Linked DNA regions of Homo sapiens: region 1 is linked to region 2. Evidence: promoter capture Hi-C in 16 types of primary human blood cells and fetal thymus (Javierre and others, 2016). All regions are on one chromosome and are shown on one strand. Each heading gives the region's core, a stretch centred on a gene start or on the middle of the fragment in contact. The rest is flanking DNA. Distances are from core to core; before and after follow the strand shown. Region 1 holds the start of SLC44A3 (solute carrier family 44 member 3). Region 2 holds the start of FNBP1L (formin binding protein 1 like).

Region 1 (2,855 bases), core at 233-2,732, 1.4 Mb before region 2:
GAATTCTTTTCAACAAAGGTAATTACTATCTGGTAGTTATTACCCTGCTCTATAAATTAATCATTTACCATGCAGCAAATAGCATGCCTTATCCTGGCATGGATGATTTCGTGAAAGTGGCCTTTGAAAATGTCGGGTGAGACGTTTTCTGCTGTTACCTACAATTCTAAAATAAGTATAAAAGCAGCAAGATTCGGCTTCCAACAGACTCTCTCAGGATTATAACCGCATAGCCTGATGGAGTTTACCAGCAATCATACATACCTCGAAATTAGAGTGGGAAAAATCATTCCTTGTTAGCTATGGTTAACAGTGTTGGCTGCTAAACACAACATATCTCTCGCGCGCGTGTGTGTGTGATGTTCAGCTAAAGGAAATGCAGTTTATTTCTAGGCTTACCCTGGCTTTTCCTTTGTTAAAGGTGCACCAAAAGCTTGAGGAATATTTGATTTGGGGGTGTGGCAGGTGCTAAAAGAACTTCTGTTCAGTAAGTTCGGAGAGTAAAAGGAGACACATTGGCCTTACTAAATAGCAATCACATTGCAAACTGTTAATTCCCATTTCCTAATGGAGTCACCCCTTAGAACATGGCCTGTAGCAAAAAGACAGCCTTTCTAGCGAGTCTAGGACAAGAATTCTCCCGAGTACAAACTGATGTTTATTGTGGGTTAACGGCAGAAGTCTCTCACTGCAGCACCAACTACGATTTACATTTGGGACAGAGTTATTTCCAGACGTGCACACACACTCTGGCCTCTTTCCTACCAAGCACCCACACTTACCAAACCAGTCCAAAAGAGAAAGAACAGGAATAACCATGCCGTATCTGTGCATTTCCTATAAATCTGGGGTCGCCACTCCCTTTGCCTAGGGGCTCCTTCTGCAGAAACCTTCCAGAAAAAGGGAGAGTTGAGAAAAAGAAGATAAACAGGTGGACTCAACCTGGAAACCGAACCCAAATCTACTCGAAGAGGGGCCAAAGTAACCAATCTTTTTCTAAATTTTTAAAATTAATATTATTTTTTTACGTGGCCACCTGAAGCTCTTTCACACAGCCTTTGAAACACCTGCTCTGCGCGGAGCGGATGTTAAGCCCCCTGCCGCCAAGTGCTTACCTGGAGGTGCACCTGAGGACGACCCCAAGTTTGCGCCCCGCGGCCCGCGTCTCCCCCGCCTCCGCCCCAGCACTGGAGCAGGGTCCAGGTTCCTCCCCGCCAGGTGGCCCCAAGGTACTAAGCGGGGGCGGGATCCCCGAGGCGCGGGAAAGGCGGAAGCGTCCGGCAGGGAAGGTGCGTGAAGGCGGGGGACTCGACCCTTCCCCGGGGCTCCTCCCCCGAGGGCCGAGGCTGCGAGCGCTTACCAGGTACTCGGCGCCCAGGCAGTGCATCGTGCGCTCGCCGGCGGGGGCCGGTGACTGGGAGCCGCCGCCGCCTCCTGTACGCGGAGACGCAGCGCCCGCGAGCCGGGGCCGGGGCCGGGGCTGGGGCTGGGGCTGGGGCTGGAGCCGGGGCCGGGCCGGGGAGGGGCGGGCACGGTGCAGCGCCGCCTCCCGTTCGCCTCTGCGCCTGGCCCGGCGACTGCGGGCGCTGCGGTCCACTGGGTCCGCCTCTTCCCGGCATGGGTTTCTGCCCAGCTCACCCGCTGTCAGCTGGGGTCCTGCTCTGGTGGGAGGAAGAGGCTCAGACGCTTCCCTGCCCTCTCGCCTCAACCACCTCGAGGCAGCGGCTCCCAGGATGTGCACTTTGACGACTAAAGCTGAGCCGGCGCCGCCACGACCTTGGGCGGGTGGTCGGCCTCTGCCCTGAGCAGGAAGTAGAAAGTCTCAGCAGACCCTTCCTGAGGGCCGAGCAACAGTGTAGTGGCGTATTCCACATAGCAAACAGGTAAGCAGCATTTACTGTGTGCTGGATTCTGTTCTCACTGCTATTGTTATTCCTAATCTACGGAGGAGGGAAACTGAGGCACGGCCATTGGTGATGCAACTTGTTCGAGGAGACCCAGTAAGTTGTGGAGGCAGGAGTCGAACCCAGACACTCCGGGAGACCGGCGCTCTCGAGGTGGTTTACTCTGACTTCTCTCCCACCTTGCCTTAGGACAATCATTGCCTGACTTCGCAATTGAAATGGTAGTGTCCACTGAAGCGACTGGTGGCATAGTTTTCCAGGTAGTGTCAGACCAGCGCAAAAGCACTGTTGGGGTGAGGAATTTAAAAAACGAAAAACAAAAAAAACTGCAGGCCGACCTCCCCCCACCTCCTCTCAATCAAGCCTCTACCCTTCCCCCTGCCACCCTTAGGGTTGCTAGGTTAATTGCTTCCTTTAGGTGCTGCTTCTCCCTAAGGGTAGAAACCTGACTGGAGGAAAGATCTGGGTAAGTGGGAGAAACTGGGAATGATAGACAGTGGTTCTCTGGTGCCAGCGATTTCCTTCTGGGCTCACACCACCCTCCCACTGCAAACTCACTGGGCCTTCCTGGATGCATGTTTATCAGACAGAGTAGGTGAAACCCCAGGGGAACATGAATTCATAGGACAAAGAATTAGACACTGGAGGAGTGCAACTACTGTTAAAAGACCACAACTGAATAACATATGCCATCTGAAACTGATCAGTAGAGCAGATGGACCAAGATTTTTAAATAAGCATGATAAATTTATTTAAAATGAGTTATGATATTAGCAATATGAATCAGGAAAAAATATGAAACTAAAACATATTAAGCATAAAAATAATAATTAGAATGAATATTGATGCTACGTATTAGTAATGTGCAATAGTCTAAAAGATGCAGCTGACGATGAATTAGTAATTGGAAGAGCACTTTCAGCAAACCTCCAGAGGCAGTAGAAAATGTTT
Region 2 (2,700 bases), core at 132-2,631:
CCATTGGCTTTCACTCCCACCCTAGCTGGGCACACACATACTCAAAAGTTATTTCTCCCCTTTCTCTGCAGTGATTTCACGAGATCCTCGCGAACAAAAGGCACGGAAAACAGGCACAGGTGGAATAAAAAGGGGAGTGGCTGAGGCCAGGCGGCTCTCGGGACAGCGCCCCCACGCCCCCAGTTCTCCCGGCCGCACCTGAGAAATCACTGCCCTCCGCACCTGAGAAATCACTGCCCTCCACACCTCGACCCTTCCGCGCCGGCGCCAGGAGCAAATTCTCCGACCTATTACCCTCCGCCCGTACCTTGGCCAGACACTGGGCATTGTCTGGAGCCTCCTGTGCCAAAGAAAGGCAAGGAGGAAAGGAAAGGAGAGAACGAAGGAGAAAGAACAAGTGAGAATAAAGAACGGAAAGGGAAGTAAAGCAACAGGGAGACCGTACGCTCCTTTTGGTAAAATTAGCTTCCTCATCGATCACTCGATTTAATTCAGCCCCCAAAACCAACCCACCAGCCCAAAGGCTGCAGCCGGGGGTGGCCAAACCGGAGTCCCTCGAAGCTGTGCCCGCCCGAAGCACTGAGGCAGGGAGAGAGAAATGTGCGTGTGGGCTGGGCCTGGCTGGCCCGAGGCCGGGCTCCGAACAAAGCCGCCTGGGTCCCCATACCTGGGGCGAGGGCTCTGGGCGGCGCCGCCCCAGACGGGCGACGCCCTAGCCCCGCGGACCTGGCCCGGGCGAGGAATCGCGGCCGGTCCCCTCCCCGCCCTCGAACAGCGCCCCTTGGGGACAATGGGCCCCCTCCCCCGCCTCCGGGAGGAGAGATACAAAGGAAGAGAGGAGCCGCCGGGCGCGAAGCCAGGCGTCGGGAAAAGTGAAGGTGGAGGAGGGAGAAGGAACAAGAGGGGATCACGGCGCACGCAGGAGCCCGCGGGCTGCTCCCCCGGCCGTCCCGGGCGCCGCCCGAGCTGCACCACGGCGGCAAAGGCGGGAGCACGGACTAGCGGCCCCCTAGACCCCCGGCCGAGAAGGGAAGAGGAGTCTGCACACAAAGACGAGCGGGACCCTCACCCTCCGCCAGCGCCGGACCGAGGACGGCGGAGCGCGCTTTCACCGCCGAGGGTCCGCGGCGCCCGCCCAACCCGCGCTTCTCAGGGGCCGGGGTCCGTGCGGGGCGCCCCTCTCCCCGACTCACCCACAGCTCCGTGCCCCAGCTCATGGCGGAACTTTCTGGCCGTCTGGCGGTGCCGCTGTCCTTCAGTCTGTCGGCTCCACAGTCTGTCCGACCTCTCACTCGCTGGCCGGCGGGCTAGCAGCTCAGCGGGTCTACCTCGAAAGGTGCCGCCACCGCCGGGCTCCCCAGTGAGTGAGAAAGACGCGACTGGAGAAGCCTCCGCCGCCGACGCGTCCCCGCCTCCCCGCGCTGGGCGGGAGGGGGCCGGGGCCGAGGGGAGGCGGAACGCGGCGCGGGGAGGGGGCGGGGCGCAGTGCATCCTGGGATCGGGGAGGACCTGGGCTAGCCTGGCCACCGCCGGCGGGGTCCCCAAGCGGGCACCTGGTCACCCTCGCTGGCCCCTCTCGCTGGTCGAGTCTCCTCCTGCAGGTACCCCGGAGCTTGGACTGCCCCCACTCCGCTGCCAGTCGGACCCCTGTTTCCAAGATAGAAAGGGAGAGAAGGGAAAAGACCCCCACCGCCGCTATTATCTCATTCCTCCTCTGCGCTGAGCCCCTTTACATGAGGCAATTTTAGTTACCTGCCTTTCCTGCCTCTTGTCTCCTCCACTCGGGAGAAACCTTGACAGGGAAGCGTCATCCAAATCCTAGAGTTTAGACTGAGGAGAGTTGTGTTTTATTTTTTTAAATCTTGATGCTTAAGGTGATCTCTCCTTTCAAGCCTGATGCTTTGGCATGACGATTCTTGGGAACCACCAAAATGTGCACAGGTTGAACAGCAAATGTGAAGGCAACATGTCCCCGATTCTGTCTTTAATTAAATATTTTAATTTTATAAATTCTGTCAGGAAATTATAAAAAGAGGCAGCTCTTCCAGTAATCATTTAGGTATGTTGCCAGCGCACGAGATGGAAGACGTGGACAAATGTGAGCCGAGCTGTCACCTGCGGAAGATGAGAAGGCAGCTTGCCCCATGTCTGGAATGGGCACCTCGTGGGTGAGGGTTGGATGGGAGCCAGATTTTTCTCTGGTAGTGTAAACAGCTTATTCGGAACTTCAGATCTCTTTCACCTCCCAGTATCGGAACCTTGGAGGCAGGTCCACTACTTCCTTTTTTCTCTATGGAGCTACTTCCTGGCCTATCTCCATGGAAAGGCTGTTAGCTAGTTTGGCTGGTGCTACTAGATATCAAGTACGCTGAGCAACTCCCTAACATATGCTTTAGTATTAATAGCTTGTCTCCTAAAGCAAGCAAGCGCACACACACACACTTCAAAACAGTCAACTAGTAGAGTACTCCTCAGTGCGTCATGACAGCTGGGTGTTTTAGGAAGCTCTCCCAACGGGTTCTTTGTCAGCATTGAAACTCCTCCCCTACCTGGCCTGGACAGGTGTTCCAACCTCTTCCGCTTAATCCGTATTCTTTTGCCTAGCTGCGCTCCCTCTTGGAGTTGAGGCCAACAGCCTGAGTTCGCCTGACAGTCCAGTTGCTAATCTTCCTAAATTCTCTGCTGTCCTTTTCTGAGGCC

Evidence for each region. Contacts are between HindIII fragments. The CHiCAGO score rates a contact against its expected background, and 5 or more counts as called.
Region 1: a contact is called between the fragment with the promoter of SLC44A3 here and the fragment with the promoter of FNBP1L in region 2, in 6 of 17 cell types (total B cells, non-activated CD4 T cells, total CD4 T cells and 3 more). The highest score is 14.1, in total B cells.

Annotation. Positions count from the first base shown.
Region 1 is chr1:94,818,984-94,821,838 of GRCh38, reverse strand. It overlaps SLC44A3 (solute carrier family 44 member 3), which reads right to left and starts at 1,482. Exons shown (of 15, transcript NM_001114106.3): 1 at 1,361-1,482; 2 at 783-890. The coding sequence starts at 1,387. SLC44A3-AS1 (SLC44A3 antisense RNA 1) reads left to right here and starts at 1,607. Exons shown (of 6, transcript NR_160780.1): 1 at 1,607-1,883. RefSeq lists a silencer at 1,289-1,478. The HindIII fragment of the contact is 9,215 bases long and covers 436-2,855 here.
Region 2 is chr1:93,446,799-93,449,498 of GRCh38, reverse strand. FNBP1L (formin binding protein 1 like) reads right to left here and starts at 1,381. Exons shown (of 17, transcript NM_001164473.3): 1 at 1,194-1,381. The coding sequence starts at 1,217. RefSeq lists silencers at 1,224-1,273, 2,213-2,507 and an enhancer at 754-1,732. The HindIII fragment of the contact is 14,675 bases long and covers 1-2,700 here.